Regions from separate parts of the Homo sapiens genome. Here regions 1, 2 and 3 are each linked to region 4. The links are contacts of gene promoters, found by promoter capture Hi-C in blood cells and fetal thymus (Javierre and others, 2016). All regions are on one chromosome and are shown on one strand. The core of a region is centred on a gene start or on the middle of the fragment in contact, and the rest is flanking DNA. Distances in the headings are between cores, read along the strand shown.

Evidence for each region. Contacts are between HindIII fragments. The CHiCAGO score rates a contact against its expected background, and 5 or more counts as called.
Region 1: a contact is called between a fragment that was not itself captured here and the fragment with the promoter of PSMD5 in region 4, in 5 of 17 cell types (naive CD8 T cells, naive CD4 T cells, total CD4 T cells and 2 more). The highest score is 9.7, in naive CD8 T cells.
Region 2: a contact is called between a fragment that was not itself captured here and the fragment with the promoter of PSMD5 in region 4, in 1 of 17 cell types (neutrophils). The highest score is 6.4, in neutrophils.
Region 3: a contact is called between a fragment that was not itself captured here and the fragment with the promoter of PSMD5 in region 4, in 8 of 17 cell types (naive CD4 T cells, naive CD8 T cells, non-activated CD4 T cells and 5 more). The highest score is 12.5, in naive CD4 T cells.

What each region holds. Positions count from the first base shown.
Region 1 is chr9:121,156,139-121,158,838 of GRCh38, forward strand. CNTRL (centriolin) reads left to right here. Exons shown (of 44, transcript NM_007018.6): 28 at 1,332-1,462; 29 at 1,602-1,742; 30 at 1,845-1,971. Among named protein-coding and RNA genes, the nearest start is that of RAB14, 44 kb to the right of the region's middle. The HindIII fragment of the contact is 9,656 bases long and covers 1-2,700 here.
Region 2 is chr9:120,573,679-120,576,378 of GRCh38, forward strand. The region is part of intron 1 of CDK5RAP2 (CDK5 regulatory subunit associated protein 2); the gene reads right to left. Among named protein-coding and RNA genes, the nearest start is that of CDK5RAP2, 5.1 kb to the right of the region's middle. The HindIII fragment of the contact is 1,838 bases long and covers 429-2,266 here.
Region 3 is chr9:121,201,696-121,204,395 of GRCh38, forward strand. It overlaps RAB14 (RAB14, member RAS oncogene family), which reads right to left and starts at 174. Exons shown (of 8, transcript NM_016322.4): 1 at 1-174. It also overlaps a transcript of GSN not described here and the pseudogene RN7SL181P. RefSeq lists a silencer at 1-95 and enhancers at 1-287, 106-325, 596-755. The HindIII fragment of the contact is 7,258 bases long and covers 1-2,700 here.
Region 4 is chr9:120,841,563-120,844,262 of GRCh38, forward strand. PSMD5 (proteasome 26S subunit, non-ATPase 5) reads right to left here and starts at 1,360. Exons shown (of 10, transcript NM_005047.4): 1 at 1,175-1,360. The coding sequence starts at 1,347. It also overlaps the pseudogene CUTALP. RefSeq lists enhancers at 981-1,510, 1,082-1,381, 1,269-1,563, 1,329-1,623, 1,582-1,931. The HindIII fragment of the contact is 10,742 bases long and covers 1-2,700 here.

The sequences.
Region 1 (2,700 bases), core at 75-2,574, 310 kb after region 4:
TATCAAAATATCACTGGTATATTTTGATTATAAATTTTGGTATATTTTGGTTATATATTAATATATATAGGTATAGATATATAAAATCATCAAAAGAAAATTGATGGCAGTGGTAGTAGGCAGAGGTAGTAAGTCAACCAAGGCTGGTAAGTTCTTTCACCTTCATCCTCCCAAAATGACTCAGGGAGGCAGCTTGGTAAGAAGGAGGAGGAGAGAGAAAGTAGTGGTGTTTTGGAAGGAGTGTGCCAGACATGTTAAAACCTGACATAGAAGGAGACAAAAAACTATTTGGTGGCTTTTCTGGAATGCATAGCCAGTTTTATCCAGTGCTTTGCTGGTGAAACTGACAGAAACAAGCTATCTGAAATGGAAAGACGTATGGTAAAATATGTAGCTCTCTGGGAGCTTGCCAACCCTTTTGCATCCACACAGATATTTAATAGGCAAATTTAACATACGGACTCCTCTGGCTTTAGTACAATGGCAGACTTCAGTTTTTTTTGGCTGAAGGTGAGTCACTGCTCAACCAAGTGCAAACCACACTCTATTTATTTTTGGAACTTTTGATGTCATTGTTTTAAGCATCTTATGTTAGGCAGAAAAAGAAACCAAGTTGATTAAAACAAATGTGTTTTTACCAAATCTTATATAGGAAGATTTTAAACATTTGCAAAGTATTTAATGTTTGTGTTTGTCAGCCGTAATTACATTATCACCAGATCAATGCATTTTTACTTCGCTTGATAATAACTATAGAGTGCAGCAAGAATTTCTGTGTGGAGGAAATCTTGGTAAAATCACTTCCTTCCCACTTAGTTGGGTAGATAGTTTTAATATTTAAAATGATATAATAGTATTACAGATTATTTTGAAATAAAAAGCATCTTTAGTTCCACTACTTTCAAATGACTGTATTTATTTTTATATAGTCTTTCTGTCTTTGTTGACACATGTAGTTTTACACAGTTGCTCTCACAGTGCTTATACCATTTTAAATTTATTTTTCTCAGCCAACATAATATTAACATTCTTCCGTGTTGCTACATTGTCATCTGATCATTTGAAAGGCTACACAGTATTCCACTTTGTTAATGCATTATCACTTAGCCTATTATTATTTGTCAGGTCTTATATTATTATACATTGAGCATTTTTATATAGTAGTTCTTTGCTTCTGAATTATTTACCGAGAATTAGAGTTACAGTGAATGGACATTTTTATGTCTTTCTGTACCATCTTGTTTTCCAAAAGAGCTGTACTGGTTTACATGGCCAGTAGCTGTGAGTGAGTATTGTAACTGAATGGCTTTTAATGACAGTTTCTTTTCTAGACAAAAAATGCTGTTGAAAAGTTCACTGATGCCAAGAGAAGTTTATTGCAAACTGAGTCAGATGCTGAGGAATTAGAAAGGAGAGCTCAGGAAACTGCTGTTAACCTCGTCAAAGCTGATCAGCAGCTAAGGTAGGTGGATTCCCTAAGCCGTTGATGTATACATTGAGATGAATGAAAAGTTTGCTTCTAAGGGGATAATAATTGGTTTATGATAAATAATGCATGGTAAGTCTACAGGACCTGGGGGGAATAAAGCAATGTGCTTTAGATCGCTCCAGGCTGATGCAAAGGATTTGGAGCAGCACAAAATCAAGCAAGAAGAAATCTTGAAAGAAATAAACAAAATTGTAGCAGCAAAAGACTCAGACTTCCAATGTTTAAGCAAGAAGAAGGAAAAACTGACAGAAGAGTAAGTAAGGCCTCTGTAGGGCTACAAGGGGTTTGTGCTGGAAGACAGCTCTGGGGTTCCGAGTCCCTTAGGATCTGCTCTAGTGTTGCTGGTGCTTTGTAGGCTTCAGAAACTACAGAAAGACATAGAGATGGCAGAACGCAATGAGGATCACCACCTGCAGGTCCTTAAAGAATCTGAGGTGCTTCTTCAGGCCAAAAGAGCCGAGCTGGAAAAGCTGAAAAGCCAGGTATGGCAATAGACACCTTGAAAAAACAACTGACACAGCACTTTATGATTATAAAAGTAATACATGTTTAATTGTAGAAAAGAATAAATGCGGCTATGTATTATAGTTGTTAAGCATGAAGTCTGAACTAAATTTGAATCCCAACTCAATACAATACTTCTGAATAAAAAAAGTGGGTCTCAAAACATGGTATACTCTATGAGATCATTTCTGTTAAATGCCTTTATCAACACTTATGGTTGTATTTTTAGTCAATACCAAAGTACAAAAGTGGTCATCTGATAAGGGGGGATTTTGAGTATTTTCTGTTGTCTTCCTTTTGCATATCTGCATGGTCTTCTTTTTTTTTTGTAAACAAATACGTATTGTCTTTAAAATTGCAACGAATTTTTAATTTTAAAAATGAATACATTTTAAAAATCTCTGACTAACTTCCATCACCAAGGATGTCAAAATGGAATTAGGGTATAAAAATAAAAGTTCTTGGAAAACTGTAACCTGAGGGATGATCATGATTATCATATTGTTGTTCTTACTGTGATCACTGTGATTTGAGTGGTTTTAAGTATGTGAGCTCAAGGTTTTCATTAGGCATTTCACCCTTGCACTCCTTGCCTGGCTTTTCTGACTCTTGGGGGCTAGGATATTAGCTCCTGATTTTACCTCACAACTAAATTATCTCCAGGTTAGCACTGAGGGCTGTATGGCCTTTGTCAAACTTACTCTTCC
Region 2 (2,700 bases), core at 98-2,597, 270 kb before region 4:
TTTGGAAATAGGTGGGCTACAGATATATAACAAGACAAAGGAAATATACTGAAATATTAAAAATCATCATTAGTAGGGAAATGAGAGGTTTTCTTCCTTTTTAATGTTATATAATTCTCAATTTCCTCCAATAAACATCACTAAAAGGACAAAGTCAATTTTCTAAACTGAATTTTAAAAACTAAAATCAAGTTCAACCATCACCTTTTGCAGATGGTGGTCCAGAAGCCCAAGGTCACATACACCAGGTTATTGGCCAAGCTCAGCCTAAGGTCTGGTCCTGCATTCTCAATCTGGGGTTCTCTCCGGGTACCAGAGCCATTACATTAACTCCCACTGGCTAAAACTGCCCATGAATAACTCAAGCCAAGATCAATCACAGCTGAAAAGTACCTAGCAAACAAAGCCAAAGATTCTGGTCTTAGACAAGCTTCCTACAGGCAAACACTGAAGTTTGAAAAATGACATCTGACATCCCAACTCTTAGACAAAACCACTATGTAATGCAGAAATTTTTGCTTGGATCCTGCCAAATTTCCACTCGGGCTTTACCTACCCACTTTTAAAATGCTATGAATCTGTCATCTGCACCCTCCAGTCAGTTCCAACTACACCTCCAGCCACAAGCAGCTCCCTCTTTCCATTCTAATCATTCACTTGTAGCCTTATAATTAAGGCTGGGGCCTCAGGGATACTCACGAGAAATGACAATGTAAGCAAAACAAAAGGGCTCAGATATGATCTTATTCCACAGATGAGAAGACTGAAACCCAGAAATGGGTTAGGAACTTATTTACTCAAAATCACAAAAGTTAGTGGCAAAGCCAAGCCCAAAATCCAGGATCCCAGTGTCTTTTCCACTTGCTAGCCTGTGTGTGGACTGCCCAAAGCTCCTATATAAATGTGACACATGGTGGAGTACCAGTTTCCTCACGTGCAAAATAAAGCACAATCTAAGAAACCTGCCCTTGTATGGGGCACCCATGCTGCACAAGCACCACACTCAGCACAGGACAGGCAGCCTTCCCTTTCATCCTCACCACAGGATTAAAGTCCATTTTCTAAACTGAATGTTTGAAACTAAAATCAGGTTTAATCCTCACTATAGTCTTTCTGCGGCTGGTGGTACTTTTTAATGTTGCCTTTTTTTTTTTTTTTTTTAATGAGGAAACAAAGACCAAAAAGTTAATAGGCTGGAAACTCCAAGCCAGCCTGACTTTAAACCCCCTGCTGTGAACCTACACCACCCTGGTACCCCTGACGCCTTCCCGGAGGTTGGGGGTGGCAGGGGTGTGGTGGTGGTTAAGGGCCGAATGGACTGAGGCATAAAATTTCCATCACTCAGCACAGGGCACAGCCATCATAACGACTGTTTTGTTTTGTTTTGGTTTTTTGGAGACTCTCACTCTATCGCCCAGGCTGGAGTGCAGTGGCGTGATCTCAGCTCATTGCAACCTCCACCTTCCATATTCAAGCGATTCTCGTGCCTCAGCCTCCCAAGTAGCTAGGATTACAGGCATGCACCACCACGCCCGGCTAATTTTTTGTACTTTTAGTAGAGATGGAGATTCACCACGTTGGCCAGGCTGGTCTTGAACTCCTGAGCTCAGGTGACCTGACCGCCTCAGCCTCCCAAAGTGCTAGGATTACAGGCGTGAGCCACCGCGCCCAGCTGTAGCAACTGTTTGTGGATAATTTTTGAGTGACTGAATGGACCTTCACCTGAGCTCCACCACCTCATCCTCCTATCTTGCTCTATTGCTACCGAAAAGGACTGACCTCTTTCTATGCCTACATATGCCAGCAACAATTGTCCACTCAAACCATAAGACCCAAGGGGTCTTATGTCTCCTTGACAAATTGTTTCATGAGAGTCATGGATGAGACCAGATATCACATTCTGACAACGATTACACAAACAAACTCACTTTTGTCTTTTAACAACCCCTTTTTCATTCTATTTTATTCTTAATTAGAGAAAAATACATAAATTTAAAAAAATACAGATAAGCCTAAAGTTCTCCTTGGCTCCTCCTCGCTCCCATCTAGAACCCGCCTAGGAGGTAATCACTGTTTTCAAAAAGACCTATAACTTCCAGAACTTTTTATGTGTTTTTACATAGATAGTTTCAATTTTGCTGCTTAAAAACACATGCAATCAAACAGTATACATCATGCTACAACATCCTTCTTCTACTTAATATGCCCTCATGATGTTTTCATGACAGTACAAATAGATATGCCTCAAAGTTTTCAACTCCTACAAAGCTTTCTACAGCAGTGTTCTTCAAACCTTACTGACCATGAGCCACAGAAGAAATATTATTACCCTTCATCCTTGAAATGTTTTCTATTCTGTTCTATTTTTCTAAATCCTGGTTGCAACCTACTAAATTGAATTTCATGAGCTACCAACGGGCCACAGTCTGAAAGATACTTTTGAAAGGATGTGTATTTACCCAATCCCCTACTGATGATAATTCAATTTGTTTCCAAGTTTTTCTTTTACATGCAATGTCATATGAATGTCCTTATAAGGTCCCATATGCACAAGTATGAGGATTTCTCTAGAATAGATGACAAGAAGTGGAATTGCTGGGTCAAAATATATTCACGTTTTTTAAATGGACGATGGATTTGAATACACATTTCTCCAAAGAAAGTGAACAAATGGCTAAAAGGCACATGGAAAGATGCTCA
Region 3 (2,700 bases), core at 31-2,530, 360 kb after region 4:
GGAACAGGAGTGCGGACGCAGCGGGAGAGGGGGCGGGGGCGGTCGACCGAGGCGCCGGCAGGTACACTGGCAGGCCGAGAGGTGCAGACGCGCCGGCAGCAGTAGCGGCAGTAGCAGTGGCAGCGGTGACTGCTCCTGTGCTCCCTCAGTATCTTCCTCGGGCTGGTCCAAGATGGCGGCGCTCCCTGCACAGGGTTTCCTGTCACCCTCGCAATGGGCCGGACCACAAAAGAAGGGGGAGAAGATGCGCGCGCAGCTGGCGGAGCCCGGAAGAGGGTGGCTGAGGCCAGCCCGCTAGCCACGCCCCTTCCTCAGCCCTCACCTCTGGACTTGTCGCGCCGCCGCTGAGGCCCGCCCCACGGGCGCTCGCGCCCGGAGGGAAGGTGGAAAGCGCGTATGCGCAAGCGCAGTCGCGTGTCCTCGCCTCTTGGGGGAGCTACTGCGCAGGTCTGCGTGGAACCTGGTGGGGTGCGCCTGCGTCTTGGAGAACTAGGGTTGTCGCTCGTGGAGACTTTTGAACAATTTTTAAAGCCAACATTTACCACTTATTGGACGCTTACCGTATACTGGCCACCATGCTAAGCATGCATTTACTGCATTCATTCAACGTGTATTTATGGGGGCATTTACTGTATATACCGCTGTATGCTTCGTATATACCGGTCCTGTCCAACAAACGTCGGAGGCACGCATCCCCATTGTATCCATGGAGAAACTGAGGCTCAGGTTGGTCAACTCTCTTGTCCAAGATCACGCAGCTAGGAAGTGACCCTGCATTTCATCTCTATTTTGACTTCACTTTGGGGTTGCCTTTGACAGGGTGAGAGAAATGTGATATTTTTCACAATTTGTCTACCACCTGCCATCTTCCAACTTGCTCTGCCATAATCACTGCCCCAGAAGGTTTCGTGCTTTTCGGGTGCAGGGACACGTTTTGACTTTCTTGGACCCTGAGCACTTTTGCCTTGTGGCTTGTACATTACACACACACATATATTTCACACACATGTAAGTTAAATATATGTATAAATATTTAACATATTTTACAACTGCATTGATATAAACATGACGTATCAATATTATATAACAAAATATTTTCTCTGACCTGAAAGTTCATTTTTTTCTTCTGACTTTAAAAGAATGTAAGCCGGCCGGGCGCGGTGGCTCACGCCTGTAATCCCAGCACTTTGGGAGGCCACGACGGGCGGATCACGAGGTCAGGAGATCGAGACCATCTTGGCTAACACGGTGAAACCCCGTCTCTACTAAAAATACAAAAAAATTAGCCGGGCGTGGTGGCGGGCGCCTGTAGTCCCAGCTACTCGGGAGGCTGAGGCAAGAGAACGGCGTGAACCCGGGAGGCGGAGCTTGCAGTGAGCCGAGATCGCGCCACTGCGCTCCAGCCTGGGCAACAGAGCGAGACTGTCTCAAAAAAAAAAAAAAAAGGAACGTAAGCAAGGAGGGCTGGTAGTCTGCGCCTGTAATCCTAGCTACTGGGGAGGCTGAGGAGAGAGGATCGCTTGAGCCCAGGAGTTCTGGGCTGTAGTGCACTGTGTCACTAGATAGAGTGTCTGCACTTAAGTTCAGGAGGGAGGGACCACCCAGGTTGCCTAAGGAGGGATGAACCGGCCCAGGTCGGAGATGGAGCAGGTCAAAACTCCCGTGCTGATCAGTAATGGGATCATACCTGTGAACAGCCACTGCACTCCAGCCTGGGCAACATGGGGAGACCCTGTCTCTAAAATAAATAAATATTCATTTTTGTTGGCCCCTAAAAGTATTGGAGGCCCTAAGCCCTGTGCATACTGTACTGTGCCTAATGGATAAGGTGGCCCTGCCTTAGTTCCCCACCCCCAAATTAAATCAATCTTTCTCTTAGCGTTCAGGACCTTTTATGAACTGGTTCTGCCATGAACAAGTGAGATTTCACTGTAAAAGTGTGTGCCAGTTTGTACATCTCATATTTTCAGAGACCTGGGTTCGAATTCCTGCTCTATAATCTAATGGTATGCAGTTGTGCATGTCACTTGATTTCTGAGATTGTCAGTCTTTTCTGCAATATGAAAATAGTAATATCTCTCTCAAATAGGTCTTTGTGAAAATTAAATGGGATAGTATATGCAAAATATCTGGTATATAATAAGAAATGGAAATGATTATTACATGATAATCTAATCTAAGGTGATATTGAAATCCTTTTGCAACCCTAGAGGTCTAGGCTTCTATTTCCACATTCTTTAATAAGTATAGTTTGTTGTCACACTTTAACATTTTTGAAACTAAGAAATTTGCCTGTGCCAAGTAAAGGAGAAAACTGTGAACCAATGATCATTAATTGCCCAGGTATGAACTTAGACCTGGCTAGTAAGTTTCCTTATAGCCATTATCACCTGAAGGGAGATCTTTATGTATAGCTGATGTTTATTCAACACTTACTATGTACCAGCAACTGTCCTAAGAATCATGCATATTTTCTCATTTAATCCTTACCACATCCGCATGAAGTCAGTACTATATTTACCCCATTTTATGAATGAAAAAACTGAGTGTCATACAGATCTAAAGTCGTTTAGGTGAAAATTGGGTGGGACTTAAATCTGGCAACATGTGACCTCAGGGCTGTACTAAGCCCTATTCCATTTCCTCCCTTATTTGCTCTTGTTTCACAATAGCCAGCTTAAATGCAGGTCCCTAACTGCT
Region 4 (2,700 bases), core at 110-2,609:
AGCGAGACTCGTCTGAAAACAAACAAACAAACAAAACAAAACAAAACAAAACACAGAGATCTTTCCATGTCCACATACATATATATACATCTACCTCAATAACTTAAATAACTGCACAGTGTTACAGAGTAATAGCGCATAATTTGGAATCCTCTGTTAACGGATATTTAGATTGTTTCTAGTGTTCTGGTGCCACACACGATATGTTATATTCTTGCATATAATGTTGTAGGGTCCTCCAGTCGCCCCCTTTCTTTCTCTGTCCTGATGGAAAATCAGAGTGCCTTGATTGCTCTCTGACCTAGCCAGCGGCAGGTTTCCCTAGCAGGCTTGACCATAAACCAGGGGCCTTGAACATTCACAGGCCTGATAAAGGTACCTAGGTTGTTGCCCAAAACACTGGAAGAAACTGGCCTCAACCCTGAGCCAAATTCCTTTAAACTCTCATCTGAACTCCATACCCTGACCCCCTCACTGCGGACATACCCAGGAACACCTTTCTCCCGGTGTCCGTCTTGACAATTTCTGCAGCCCTCTGCAGGTTTCCCCCTAAACGCTTTTGGACTGATCGCCTTGGCATTCAGTGCTTCTTTTTCTGTCATCCCAACCAGCCACATCTCGGGAAGGTTTGAAGCACTCCCTCGTGGGAACTCTCTTGCCGCTGCTTTTGGGGCGATTCCAGCCTCGGGTTCGAAAGAACAAAGTAACTGCACATTTTGTGCGCGTATACTTGCATTAAATTTTTTTAACAAGAATGACTGGATGAAAAAGCATGTGAATTTAAAATGCTGATGGTTCTTGCCACATTGCCAGGATAGGATCCTTTTAGAAGGGGAAACAAATCAAGAACCTGTACAAAGAGATGTGGAATGCTCCTTGTAAGTGGACAGCTTTGCTTTCCTCCTTTAATTTCTATTTGATGAAGAAGGCAGTGCCTCACTGCTCAGAGGCAGCGAGGCCAGGCGACGGGAGAAAACACCCTGGGGCACTCTCAGAGGCTGAACCTGAACCCCATCTCCTGCCTCTGAACCCAGGATCCTTCCTTCTCTGCAAATTTCGGCTACTTTCCACCTCCCCTGTGACTGGGAAAAGCGCTGTTCTTGCCCTCAACCACTCTCATGTCCATATTTAGGGGTGCCCCTCTCCTCGGCTCAAGCCCCCGGGGTCCTCTCACCTATGGTTCTCGTTAAGCAGGGAGAAGAGCGGGCCGAGGCGCAGCTCCGCCGCTTGCTGGCGAAGCTCGTTGAGCGGCACTGCCTGCAGCACGGAGTGAAGCGCGCGTAGCTCCTCCAGCGGCGCTTCCAGCCTCGCTACCTCTCTCAGCAGCGCCAAAGCCTGGGCTGCCATCTTGCCCCCCGACGCAGGGGCTGGCCCAGCGGCCCAGTTCCCGGGGCGCTTTCCTGAACCTCGCGAGATCTGATCACAGCCTCCTTGTCCCTGAGATGGCTATGGGGCTGCCAAGCCTCGCGAGAAGCCTCCGTTAGGGCCGTGTCAACTGTAGCCAGTGGTTGCGGCTCCCTCAGTCTGGCGTCATCTAGGTCGCTGCTCAGGGAAATGCGGAGGCCAGTAGGCTTACGTGTTTACCGCGTAGGGCAAAGCCTTGCCAAATTCCCGGCCAGCGGAGCGGCGAGGGTGGGGACTCACGGGAAGTTAAACAGCCTCGTCGGCGTCCTCGAGGCTCCAAAACCAGGCTCTAGGCGGGGACGACTGCAGCCGTTATGGAGGCCACCGCGGCTACGGCCGCGGCTGAGGCCTCCCCAGGTGGAGCGGTGGCCTGGAGGGGAATCTTGATCCTGGGCCAGCCACCTGTCAAGAGGAGGCGGAGCGTCATGCCTCTGGAAGACTGGATGAATATTCTCCAGGAGCCTGACGAAGGCGTGAGTAATAGGGACGTGCGCCGCCTTGTTGGTGTTGATCAGTCCACCAAGGAGAAGCAGCTGGTCGCAGTGGCCGTACCTGTAATCCCAGCGCTTTGGGAGGCCGCGGCGGGAGGATCGCTTGAGCCCGGGAGTTCGAGACCAGCCTGGGCAACATAGTGAGAAACCCGTCTCTACCAAAAAGAAAAAAAAAAAAAAAGGAAAAAAATTAGTGCGGTGTGGTGGCACGCACCTGTAGTCCCAGCTACTCGGGAGGCTGAAGCGGGAGGGTCCCCTAAGTCTAGGAGGTCGAGGCTTCAGTGAGCGGTGATTGTGCCACTGCACTCCAGCCTGGGCGACAGAGCAAGACCCTGCTTTCCCCTCTTGTCCTCCACTACCCTCAGGAAACCAAGAAAGACCAGCGTGGAGAGTTGGTCGCCCATCTGCTCTAAGCTGCTGTGTATTCCCCTGTAATGTAAACATCGTGAAGGTGGAGACCCAGTTAACCTTTTAGGTGGAAGGCCAGATGACAGAGGGCGGCATCTGACCCGGAAGGCCCTCTGCAACCAGGCCAAATACATCTACAGGGAACCAATGGGAAACATCTGGGGAGGACAACCCAAATAAGTATCATGCGAGCAAGGGATGGTTTGAGAACTTTAAAAATCGCTGCTGTTTTGCAACATACGAAGTTGATGGGGAGGAAGGACCCTTAAATCCTGAGTGGGTATCGAGTATTCCAAGCAACTGGAGAGAGGCTTTGTGCCTCAACAGGTCTTCAACGCCAAGGAGATGACCCATCTTTTGCAGTGCATGCCTTCCTACTTTTGGGGCAAAAGACAAA